2 separate regions of the Homo sapiens genome follow, and region 2 is linked to region 1. The links are contacts of gene promoters, found by promoter capture Hi-C in human tissues and cell types (Jung and others, 2019). All regions are on one chromosome and are shown on one strand. Each heading gives the region's core, a stretch centred on a gene start or on the middle of the fragment in contact. The rest is flanking DNA. Distances are from core to core; before and after follow the strand shown. Region 1 holds the start of BEND7 (BEN domain containing 7). Region 2 overlaps SEPHS1 (selenophosphate synthetase 1).

Evidence for each region. The method cuts DNA at HindIII sites, captures the fragments that hold promoters and counts their contacts. A contact is called where the count stands out against the background at its distance.
Region 2: a contact is called between a fragment that was not itself captured here and the fragment with the promoter of BEND7 in region 1, in 1 of the 25 tissues and cell types used here (H1 embryonic stem cells).

Annotation. Positions count from the first base shown.
Region 1 is chr10:13,525,123-13,531,581 of GRCh38, forward strand. BEND7 (BEN domain containing 7) reads right to left here and starts at 3,892. Exons shown (of 9, transcript NM_001369863.1): 1 at 3,351-3,892; 2 at 1,016-1,099. The coding sequence starts at 3,411. BEND7-DT (BEND7 divergent transcript) reads left to right here and starts at 3,482. Exons shown (of 2, transcript XR_930674.3): 1 at 3,482-3,530; 2 at 4,898-5,142. The HindIII fragment of the contact is 10,469 bases long and covers 156-6,459 here.
Region 2 is chr10:13,312,351-13,318,809 of GRCh38, forward strand. SEPHS1 (selenophosphate synthetase 1) reads right to left here. Exons shown (of 9, transcript NM_012247.5): 9 at 5,078-6,459. Among named protein-coding and RNA genes, the nearest start is that of PHYH, 16 kb to the left of the region's middle. The HindIII fragment of the contact is 4,836 bases long and covers 1,439-6,274 here.

The DNA.
Region 1 (6,459 bases), core at 2,642-5,141:
CTTGCTGTGCAGTGCTGTGCCCTCACCCTGCTACCTGGGATTGCAGAGGTCCAAGATGGACAAGGTTGAGGCCCAACGCCACCATCTACTCTCCACCCTGACCTTATGGGTACTTCACTCTTAGAGGCAAAATCTTACGTGGTTTCATTTTTGGCTGATTGTGTGCAAATAAAAAACTGCACATCCAAAGTCTTTCCTGTACAGTATTTGCACCAACACTGCACATGGAAAAGGTGGCAATGTTTGTGGCTACCTACCCACCCATCATGCAGCTACACTTGCTGGAAAGTCTCAGAAATGCTGTTTTAGCTCTGCTCATCCCTGACGTGAGCTGGGAACAAGGATGGTAAGAGGAAAGCATGCTGTTCCCCCTGTCCCAAAATGCTGGTGTGAAAGGAGCACAAAGTCAGGAAAATGAGGAGCTGCTTGATGATAACTAGCACTATCAAGAGCTGGTTAGGCAGACAGTCACACTTTTATTTTCCTTATGCTTTTTGACTGTAGATTTAATTTAATTTTGTCATGGCAGGATTAGCAACTGGGCCACAGAGGTGAAGGGACATTATAAGACAGCACATTAATCCTCTATCCCACCCAAGGCAGAAGCAAAACCAAACAAATAGCAGCTTCCTGGAAATTGAATTTCTGTTATCCAGATGTCAAAGATGTAATACCCCAATTACACAAACTATTGCCAGTGAAGCATGCCAACGAATATGCAATGTAAATGGGGTGAGCGCAGAGCCACAAAACTGCACAGTCAGCATCTGGCTCTGTGAGTGAGTGATAATTAGCACTGTGTGTAGACACTAATAAACATTTATGTCTGAAATTACAACTTTTAGCAATGTTAATAAGGGATATATTGGCAATCTGTAAAATAAAAGGTCTTGAAAAGAATGTCATACATTAAGCAATGGCAGACATTTCCCGTTCCTGAACAATTTCCTTTTTTCCCCCTAATTGCAAATGGTCACGATGTTTTGCTGAGGTATTAATTGACATAGGAACCTACCTAAAAAAATGGGCTGTGTCTCTTTGGCCTCCCCATTAACATCGTTGCTGAATTCTGGGATCTTATACACCTCGTGGTGATAATCTGGCATGAGAAAACAACCAAAAATTAGAATCCTAAGGACCTCAAGATAGGAATAAGCAGTCAAGTCTAGAATCTCATTCTATTTAGTTTGTATACTCTATAATTTATAAATAAACTTTTTGAGAACTGAAATAATCACAGAATTTGTAGTCAATAATAATTCCTAAAACTTTGCTTATTCTGGAGTACGCAAACTTGAAAGATTACTTTGGCTTTAGAAGACAGCTTTGCTTGATCACACCATGTTCACGGTAAATTGTACCCACAGATGCCAATTTTTAGGCTTTTTTTCTTTGAGGTGGCAAGTATGTTTGCCCAATCATAGAGCAGGGGAGGTTTCCAAATTTCTCTTCACAACCCATTTTCACCAGCATATCAACAGTATGCTTTAAAGTTTAGCCAGCACTCTAGTTTTCTCAGTTTACCCAGAAAATCTCAGCCTTTAAGCAGCTTAAAGGCAAGCACACATGAAAAATACTGATTTGTTATTTCAAATGTAGTATGATTTGGATAAGAAAGCAAGATTTTCATCTTTCACACAAGTGACTCTTTCGCATTCAGCTACTGCACTTTATTTAATATGCAAGTTTATTTTCTAAAACTGCACCTGCAGAGAAAGAGAAGAATCAGACCTATAATTAAAAGAAAAAGAAAAAAGGAAAAAGGAAAAACTTGCTACGTCAGTCAAAGTTTCAAATACAGTATTTTACAAGCTTCTCTATGGAGGCTACTGCATTTTTGCTTCTATTTTTGAAAAGCAGGGTCACTAAGGCATGAAAATAGAGGTTCCTCCTTAACACCTAGTCCCCTTTCTCTGGCCTTAGACCTCACAGGACAAAGTCAACAAAACTACTCTCACTTTTAAGATAAAGCAGTTAAGTTCTCTGAGGTCATCAATAAGAAAGCAGCTTACATTCCTGAATGAATCAGATAGCACCAACAGGGCAATCACCCAGACAGAGACTTTTAAAAGTCCAAGTAACTGAGTAATCAACACGGATGTGGAAAAAAAAATTTACTCAGAAAGTGGGAAGAGCCAAGTATTTTGAATGCGTGAAACTATTTCAGGCCTCTTTCATTAAACAGTATCCAAACTAAATTAGGGGAGGCAGATAAGAATGGATCTTCAAAATGCCTATAATCAAAGCATTTTCAGATGAACCAAATCCACATCTTAGCTAGCTTAGCTCAGTTTGAAAAATTCGATTACTTGCAATTGTCCACGATTTTTTCACTAATTTTCATCAGTTTACACGTGACTTCTGCAGGTTGTTGGAGTTTCTACCCTGATGCCAATGCTAGAGAAAACGACAGAGGAAAAGTGGACAGGTTGGGGTTTGGCTTTGACCTCAACTTGATTAAAAGACGACATTTAAACAGAGCGGGTCTAAACTCAATATGAGGACTTGTGACATTACAATGAAAAAAGTCACCTGCCCCTAATTAAAGATGACAATGCATTTTGAGATATATTTTCACGATGGCTCTTGAGTTATCATTTTTTTAAAAAAAAAAGTCAAATCAGGAAGATAAAGACTCTTAACAAGTAACTGAACACAGACAAGACTGTATTCCACTTTCCCCTCCCTGACAAAATACAAACCCTAGAGTGTGGTGTACACCTGTTAATTCGTCAGAAACTAGATGGATTTCTTTTCTTTCTTTTCTTTTTTCTTTTTTTTAAAGGATGCTTATCTGACTGCTATATGATCTAGTCTAAAACACCTTTCCAACCCAAATCAGCTAGCTAGAGATGTTGGATGTCAACAATTCCGCCTTGGGCTTGGACACGGCGTGAGCTTCTTTCTCCTTCTTAAAAAGAACAACAACGGTCATCCTTTTTCCTCCTTCTCTTGGCGGGGGGAAGGGGGAAGACCCCAGAAAACAAAAACAGCAAATCTCAGGTCCGAGGGTCCACGCTCGGCCTGATGGCCAGGCAGGTCCGCGGCCGCCCCAGCCCTGCCCCGGAGGCGCCCCGAGGAGGGCTCGGGCCCCCCGGTGTCATTGTTTGCTAATTTCCTGAGCTGCCCTCCGACTTGTTTACGTTAAATAACATCCCTGCTCCCCCCGCACAACTTTCCCCGCCGCCCGGCGTGTGCGGCCGCGGCCCTGCCTGCCAGCCCGGCGGAGGCACCGGGGGACCGGGAAGGACCGGGGGCTCCGGGAGGGCGCGCCCCCCAGCGTGGACCCCCGCGGGCGGCCGAGGGCGCGGCGCCCGCTGCCTGCCCCCGCCGCCCCGGCGGCCGCTTACCTCGGCTCACCAGTTTGAAGCTCTGGGATTTCCTGCTTCTTTTCCTCTCGGAGAACTCCATGGTGCGGGGAAGGCGGCGGCGGGGGCTGAGGAGGCGGCGGCAGCGGCGGCAGCGGCAGCGGCGGCAGCGGCAGCGGCGGCGCGGGCTCGTGTCACCGCGGCGGAGCCGCCGGGACCAAGGTCCGCGCCTGGAGTCGGCGAGGGGAGGCCGCGGGACGGGAGGAACCACCGCGAGCCGGCTCGGGGCTGCAGGCGCGGGGCCCGGCGGCGTGGGCTCCCGGGCGAAGTTGCCCCCGCGCGGCGCCGCCTCCCGGTGCCCTAGGCGCCCCCGCGGCCCCCGCTCATGCCGGCCCGCGGGTTCCAGACGCCGCCCGCCGCAGCCCAACTTTCCGTTGGGAGCGGGCCGGGCCGGGGCGCGGCGGCGGCGGCGGAGGCGGGGGGCGGCTCGGGGCGGCCGGCCCGCCTGGGCTCAGCCTGCGGTCGCGGCGGCGGCGGCGGCGGCCCCGAAGACGCGGCGGGCGGGCTGCGGGGAGGGCGGCGGCGGGTGCAGAGCCGGCCGGGGCGCTGACCGCCCCCGCGGGAGGAGGGGCGCCGGCGGAGGGGGCGGTGCCGCTGGGACCCCAGGGCCACCTGCTGGCGGAGCCCGGCCGCCGCCATCCCCGGGGGCCGCCGCCGGCCTGGCCGCGCGGCGCCCCGAGGAGGCGCGGAGGCCGCGGCGCAGCGCCCTGGCCCGGGCCCGGCCGGCCTGCCTGCCCCCGGGGACGACGCCGCCGCCCGGGCCTCCGCTCGCAGACCCCGCTCGCTGGCCTCCCTCCGCCGCTTGCTGGGCCGAGCTAACTCCGTGCACCTCGCCGTGGGGGCGCGGACCGCCCCGACAACCACCTCCCCGCCCTCACATCCCGGGCGCCCCGGGGCCCGACGCGCTGATTTTAAGCAAGTTTTAGGGGGAAAAAACTTACCCATTTGCGCTCTCTCTAGAAGGACAGAGAGGAGGTTTTAGAATATTGTGGAGAAGAATATAGTAGAGAGCTCCCATTCCCTAACCCAGGCTGGGCGGATTGTGGAAAGAGCCGAGTCACATTCAAGGAGAGCACTTGGAATGGGGGGCTTGGTGGCCCTGGGGACTCTCAGGAGGCCATGGTCAAGGCAGGTGCAGGGCACTATGCTTCTCCACGTCATATGTCGGAATCATGGACCCAAACACAAAGCGCTTAGTAGTTATGTGTAATATTCTTTTCGGGGGATCAGAGAGCGCACTTCAGGCACCATTTCTTTCTCACATCTTTCGAGTGGGCCAGGAAAAGAATTTCACACTACCTGGGAATGGTAGGACAGGAACATGACGGGACATGCGTGAAAGTATCTGCCAAACCCAACCAGGAAGAGGGTAAAGAGTCGGGGGATGGGGGGGCTACCTCTCCGGCACGGGACAAAGGCCAGTGGCCCCAAAAGAGTAGAGAGGAAAAAGGGGAGGTTGACAAATGTGATGAGTGTCACGTGGGTCTCACCCAAATGAGGCAGCCGCTGAGGAACCGCTCTTATTTCAGGGACACAGAGTAGGACAACTGCCGAGGAAGGGGGACATTGAGGCAGCTTGCAGAAACACACATGGAGAAACAGAACCAAAGAGCAGGGTAACCAGCAAACCAGGCAGTGGAGGCAGGGATGGGTACCCATCCCGAGATCTTGGGTGATACCAAAGGCGGCACATCCGGAAGGCTGGTTATACCTAGCGTGGAGGGGAGAGGGAGAACTGTTTCTTCCGTTCAATAAAGCAAACCCTTCAACAAGAGGTTCTTAACCTTTTTTAGTCACTGTTTCCTTTGAGATTGTGTTCAAAGCTCAAGGGCCCTTTTTCCCAGAAAATATGTATGGGACATATAAAATTTAGTATAGATTTATTGGAGTTCTTAGACGCGCTTTGCTGCTCTCAGAAAATTAGTGGTAACAGTGATTAAAGCAACTACCCTATTTGGGTTTCTTCCTTCCCTGCCACCCCTTTCTTTAAAATCAGGCATTAAAATCTGAAGATGTTTTGGATTTTTTTTTATTTTTTATTTTTTGAGACAGAGTCTCATTCTGTCGCCCAGGATGGAGTGCAGTGGTGCGATCTCAGCTTACTGCAACCTCCACCTCCCGGGTTCAAGCGATTTTCCTGCCTCAGCCTCCCAAGTAGCTAGGATTACAGGCATGGGCCACCACGCCCAGCTAATTTTTTGTATTTTAGTAGAGATGGGGTTTCGCCATGTTGGCCAGGCTGGTTTCAAACTCCTGACCTCAAGTGATCAGCCCGCCTAGGCCTCCCAAAGTGCTGGGATTACAGGCGTGAACCACCACGTCCGGCTGTTTTGGATGTTTTTAAAGAAACAAAGCATGCAATTTTGTTCCCCAGGCTGGGATCCATTCTTTCTTTATGTAATGCCTTTTAAAATGTTATTCTCAAAGCCGTAAGGCTAAGTTCTACACTGACTGAGGAACTTCCCGGATCGTTCATGCTTTGGAGCATATAATGAGATTTTATTATGCTTAAACTATGACGAACCCAGTGAAGGTGTCATCCCAAGAAGTAAATCCCTGGAGAAGGTATTAACAACTTAGCATTTTCAGTTCAAGTGGGAATGCAAATTCCATTTACTGAAGAGAATATTTTTGATATAGTTAAGAATAAAATATTTGAGTAAGAATATTTTTAAATAGTAGTCATTTCTCCTTGACCCTTTTTAACCTGGCTTTCCAAAGTTGGTCTATGAGTGAGTTGGCCTGCAGAGGACACAGGCTACGCTTGTCTTATTAGCTTTTAGAGAAAATAAATGTCTGTTTACTCTGCATTTTGTGCAAATCACTATGCTCTTATCTAACAAAAATGTATATATCACATTTAGTATTAAAATTAATAATAATGTTTAATTAAAATGAGGTTGCTTGGGGCCAGGTGTAGTGGCTCACACCTGTAATCCCAACATTTTGGGATACAGAAGGATTGCTTAAGGCCAGAAATTCAAGACCAACCTGGATAACATCCTGAGACCCGGTCTCTACCAAAAAATTAAAATATAAAATAAAACATAAAGTGAGATTGCTTTAAGTAGCAGGTATCCATATAGTAGCT
Region 2 (6,459 bases), core at 2,607-5,106, 210 kb before region 1:
TGCCTGTAATCCCAGCTACTCCAGAGGCTGAGGCAGGAGAATCTCTTGAACCCAGGAGGCGGAGGTTGCCGTGAGCTGAGATCACGCCATTGCACTCTAGCCTGGTCAACAAGAGCGAAACCACATCTCAAAAAAAAAAAAAAGAAAGAAAAAAGAAAAGTCGATTCCAGCCGGGCACAGTGTCTCATGCCTGTAATCCCAGCACTTGGGGAGGCAGAGGGGGGCAAATCACCTGAGGTCAGAAGTTTGAGACCAGCCTGGCTAACATGGTGAAACCCCATCTCTACTAAAAATACAAAAATTAGCGGGGTGTGGTGGCGGGTACCTGTAATCTCACCTACTGGGGAGGCTGAGGCAGGAGAATCTCTTGAACTCTGGAGGTGGAGGTTGCAGTGAGCCGAGATCGTGCCACTGCACTTCAGCTTGGGTGACAAGAGCGAGACTCAGTCTCAAAAAAAAAAAAAAAAAAAAAAGGTAAGTCGATTCTGCCACAGCCTGTCTAGTGGCCCACGTTTGCTTTGTGCACAAAGCTTGGTAGCTAGTGGTGAACAGACCTGCCACCCTGCTGGCCCCCGCTTGGTATGGCTGTGTAAGCAATTCTTGTTCACTGATTTTAAAAATACCATGTTTGAGGCAACAGCTTTGCTTCATGGCTGCAAAAATCTCTCCCCTGGTGAAGAAGCTACCCCGTGGGTATACGGCCTTGTGGTGGGGAGAATAACGGTCCTCCCCAAAGATGTTCACGCCCTAATCCCTGGAATCTGTGGCTGTTACCTTACCTGGCAAAAGGGATTTTCCAAATGTGATTAACGTTAAGGACTTTGATAGGGGGATCACCCCGTATTATCTGGGTGAGCCCACTGCAATCATGAGTCCTGAAAATGGAGAAACGTTTCCTGGATGTAGTAAGAAAGAGATATGCCAGCCAGGTGCGGTGGCTCATGCCTGTAATCCCGGCACTTTGGGAGGCTGAGTGACCCCCATCACTTGAGGTCAGGAGTTCGAGATCAGCCTGCCCAACATGGTGAAACCCCATCTCTACTAAAAATACAAAAATTAGCCGGGCATGGTGGGAGGTGCCTGTAATCCCAACTACTTGGGAGGCTGAGGCGGGAGAATGGCTTGAACCTGGGAGGCGGAGCTTGTAGTGAGCGGAGATCACGCCACTGCACTCCAGCCTGGGTGACAGAGTGAGACTCTGCCTAAAAAAAAAAAGAAAAAAAAAAAAAAAGAATTAAGCAACATATAGGACTGGATACTGGGTAATGATCAACGTTAACATTTTATAGGCCGTTTTAATTTTTTTTTTTTGAGATGGAGTCTCGCTCTGTCGCCCAGGCTGGAGTGCAGTGGCACGATCTCGACTCACTGCAAGCTCCGCCTCCCAGGTTCAAGCCATTCTCCTGCCTCAGCCTCTCCGAGTAGCTGGGATTACAGGCACCCGCCACCATGCCCGGCTAATTTTTTGTATTTTTAGTAGAGACGGGGTTTCACCGTGGTCTCGATCTCCTGACTTTGTGATCCGCCGCCTCGGCCTCCCAGAGTGCTGGGATTACAAGCGTGAGCCACCGCGCCCGGCCTCGTTTTTTTCTTTTCTGTTTTTTTTTTTTTGAGACAAAGTCTCGCTCTGTCACCCATGCTGGAGTGCAATGGCACGATCTTGGCTCACTGCAACCTCTGGCTCCCGGGTTCAAGCGATTCTCCTGCCCCAGCCTCCCGAGTAGCTGGGATTATAGGTGCGCACCACCACACCCGGATAATTTTTGTATTTTTAGTACAGACAGGGTTTCACCATGTTGGTAAGGTTGGTCTCGAACTGCTGACCTCGGGATCTGCCAGCCTCGGCCTCCCAAAGTGCTGGGATGACAGGCGTGAGCCACTGTGCCCAGCCAGGCCCTTATAATTTTCTACGGGCCTATGCTTGTTCTAAAAATATAATAGTAGAAAACACACTGGCTTTTCTGCAATCAGATCACTAATAGAGTGAGTTTTCTGTTTTTGTTTGTTTGTTTGTTTGTTTGTTTGTTTTGAGACGGAGTTTCGCTCTTGTTGCCCAGGCTGGAGTGCAATGGCGCAATCTCAGCTCGGCACAACCTCCGCCTCCCAGGTTCAAGCAATTCTCCTGCCGCAGCCTCCCGAGTAGCTGGGATTACAGGCATGCACCACCATGCCTGGCTAATTTTGTATTTTCTTTTTTTTTTTTTTTTTTTTTAGCAGAGATGGGGTTTCTCCATGTTGAGGCTGGTCTCGAACTTCTGACTTCAGGTGATCCGCCCACCTCGGCCCCCCAAAGTGCTGGGATTACAGGCGTGAGCCACCGCACATGGTCTTTTCTGTTTCTATGAAGCTTTGATAGGCTTCATTACATGCAGTTTCTCCTAAGCATAAAACTCCCTCTGAAAGCAACAGGACTTAGAAAGGACAAAAACCATGGAAAGCATCAACTGTGTGTTCAGTGCTGGATGTCATATTTAAGGACTGTGAAACGTAGGGAAACTTACAGCACCTTCCTTACCCTGAATTCACAGACAAATCAAAGCATTTGGCATTGGCAGCAGGCTTGGATTCCAGGCAATTCCAGAACCAGTCTAGATGCCTATGGGAGCACCGTCTCACCTACTGCTTTACCGAATGAAGACCTTGTGTAATCCATCCACTCCCATCCTCATTCAAGACACAGAGATTTCAGCATAGATAACAGGATATTCCCAGGCTTCACTTTTAACAGGACATTGGTGATTTTCACTGTGCCCCTTGGCATATGTAATGACTATAATTCATATGCGGATTCTTAATGAGAAAAATTTACAAATTACTGTTCAAAGTAAATTATGTTGTCTATGCAACCACTGCCTAAGCTAGAGGAAAGGGTGGGCTGGGTGTGGAAGTGAGCAACTCAAGGATATATACAAACAAATATACACAAAAACACACACACGGACACGACTGGTATCTGAAGCGTCGATGACTACGCTTGCTCTATTACCTAAAAATAAAGTGCAGCACAGTATAGCTATTCTGGTCTCTATACAATTAAAACTAAGATTGAGAACTCAGATATAACTCTTTTAAAGGGAATGCTAAATTCAGACTGAAAATGCCTGGCTCATTCATCTATAAACAGAACAATTTGAAACACATTTATTCATTATAAAGCATGCAGAACTTGGAAGACTATAATCTACTATTTTTAAAGACTGAGCCAAAAAGTACATATTGCTTATACAATATTTCAATTTTTCTTGGACTGAAACACAATAAATACCTCAACACAGCCTGTGCAAATAAGCAGCTTCAATATTCCTTCAGATTATTCCTAGTGCCTGAATGACTGACTCCACCATGATCCAGCTGCCTCAGGTTGTATTCACTAATTCTATGCATTCTAACAGACTGTATTTTTGGATGCAACTATACTATATGATTTACAGAAAACAAATCAGTATACCAAGATAAATACACTTCAGTGTGAAGTTTTAAAGTGCTACCAGAAAGTCAAATCGACTACTTACTCTCCACTCACTTTTTAAATTTTATTTTTTGTAGAGACGAGGTCTCACTATGTTGCTTAGGCTGGTCTCGAACTCCTGTGCTCAAGTGATCCTCCTGTCTCAGCTTCCCAAAGTGCTAGGATTATAGACGTGAGCCACCATGTCTGGCCTGTCCACTGACTTTTAAAATGTTCTACATAGATTTTGCCAAGAACTCCAATATTCAGTGACAATCATTTGAGTCTTCGTGGAGCTTTCAAAATACAGGTCTTTCTGCTGCCTTGCTGGGCCGTAGCTCAGATGTGGGAAGTAAACAGAATGGTCAAGATTTGGTCGGAATGGTCGGTAAGAGAATGGTCGAGGAAAAAATTCCTGCAAAATATGTTGCAAAAGGCTGGGCATGGTGGCTCACACCTGTGATCCCAGCACTTTGGGAGGCCAAGGCAGGCGGATCGTTTGAGCTCAGTTCGAGACCAACATGGCAAAACCCTGTCTCTACTAAAAATACAAAAATCAGTCAGGCTTGGTGGCATGCGCCTGTAATCCCAGCTACTCGGGAGGCTGAGGCGGGAGAATCACTGGAACCTGGGAGACAGAGGTTGCAGTGAGCTGAGATCGCACCACTGCACTCCAGCCTGGCTGATAGAGAGACTCCGCCTCAAAAAAAAAAAAAAAAAAAAAGTTGCAAAACCAGGTCCTCTTACTTTCCCTGCCTTCCTCTGCAACATTCCTTTTGAGATCAGTTTTTTTTTTAAATTATACTTTAAGTTTTAGGGTACATGTGCACAACGTGCAGGTTTGTTACATATGTATACATGTGCCATGTTGGTGTGCTGCACCCATGGTTCTGAAACTTTTTTGGCCATAGCCCCATAGGGTCCTTATTTAAGATATTCCCAAAGTCCCACACCCCAGAAATTCTGATTCTGTGAATCTGGAAAATCAGGGGCAGGAATGTTGCCTTCTAACACCCCGGGTGATTCTAACACAGGTGAATCTGGGCCACTATACAATACTGGTTTTTGTTTGCTTGTTGAGACTTGAGTCTGTTTCTTGAGACTGAGTCTCTGTCGCCCAAGCTGGAGTGCAGTGGTGTGATGGCAGGTTGCTCACTGCAACTTCTATCTCCCGGCTTCAAGCGATTCTTGTGCCTCAGCCTACCCAGTAGCTGGGAATACAGGTGTGCGCCACCAAACCCAGCTAATTTTTGTATTTTTAGTAAAGACAGGATTTCACCATGTTGGCAAGTCTGGTCTTGAACTCTGGACCTCTGGTCATCTGCCCACCTCGGCCTCCCACAGTGCTGATATTACAGGTGTGAGCCACCATGCCCAGCCAACACTGCTTTAAATACAAATTCTTCCTCTTGGGATCATAAGACTTACACGGACCTCTAAGTACCCAACATTTTCTCTTTATAAATATCAATCTTCACAAATATTATTTCCTTAAGTACATACTCCACTTAGCTCCCTCCTCTCAATAGGCCTGCCACTGAGGAAAACACCAGCTCTCACGGCACAGGCTACACTGAAGTTCAGTCATCGTTATTTAAAAAAAAAAAAAAAAAAAAGCTCAACAGTAGGTTTATCTCACTAGAGGTTTCCAACACACTTTATTTTGCAGACCACTGGTTTGTAGCTTTTGAGGACCAACATCTCTATCAATTCCTATAAAATGTCCAATCACTTTCAGTTCCGTAGCAGGCTCTTCCATACTGCACACCATGCTTATGGCTGGAGGTCCAGTTACACATGCATGAAGGCTGCCCTGCCCACTGGTTCCTGGAGGAGGGCGCGTCCGAGTTAAAGCCTCTTCCAGGAGCTTGAACTTCCCAGGGGTCATTTCCTTTGGCAAGAAGTCAGTTTACATGTGCAGCTTTGGTGCCTGTGAGCAGAAAGCACCAGAAATGGGCAGGATGTGCTGCTTTTTCTCTCACGAAGATGGGCACTTGAGGATCCAGCGCCCTTGTGCTTAATGACAGGAATCCCTCCTCATTGCTTAGTAGGTTAAAATATAAGGAAGCCTCCACTTTACATAACACAGAGAACACCTTTTTAGATTGCCTATTTATTCTAGAACTACAAAATTTAATTCAAGAAAATATAGGTCCCATGAAAGACTTAAAAGTTTTATAAAACTAAAATCTAGTTTTTCCCGATAAATTGTACTTTAGGCAAAACCCTCCCAACGCTTCTAAAATAATACTAAAAGGGGCATCTGATTATACAAGAGCAATTTAAAAAATTAAATATTTATTTGAATAACAAGTTTAAGTTCGAGCTGCAATGTTGGCAATGCAGGTTTTTAACACAGATCACAAAAAGCGTGCACAAAAAAGTACTGGCGCAAAGGACAAAATAATGCTAAGAATTAGGCCAAACAGCTGCTGATTTTAAGAAAACAAAAGGCCTGAAATCACTGTACAAAATAGAAAATGTATTAAACACTACCATCCACAGAACAGTCTTTACTATTGATTATATTTAAAAATTATTTGTGTAATTATATATTGAATTGTAAATGAGTATTATACATGAACCTCCATTCGGAAGGCAATTCCTTGTAGCACTATAGAACATCTAATAACATTGCAAAAAGTATCCTTTTTTGCTATCGATAAAACAGTTAATGGTATTACTGTAAATATCAGGAAGGCTACAAAAAAAGAAATAAGATTTCTTTTTTGTCTTCAAAGTGTTTTCCATGCAATGAAGCACTTGCTGTGTTGAACTGAATGCACTACTGGAGAATGTTCTGGGTCCGAGATGCTCTTGAGAGACAAGACTAGGCTTTTCAAATCAAACACTCAAAGGAATCATGCAACCCTCTTATGACTGGGATACCGTCATGTGCCACTTACCAATGCTGTCTCTCCAGAAAACCATTCAAGACGCTTAAAAAAAAAAATCAGACTTATATGATAAATATACATAAAATGAAGACACCAACTGCTATTTGACACGAC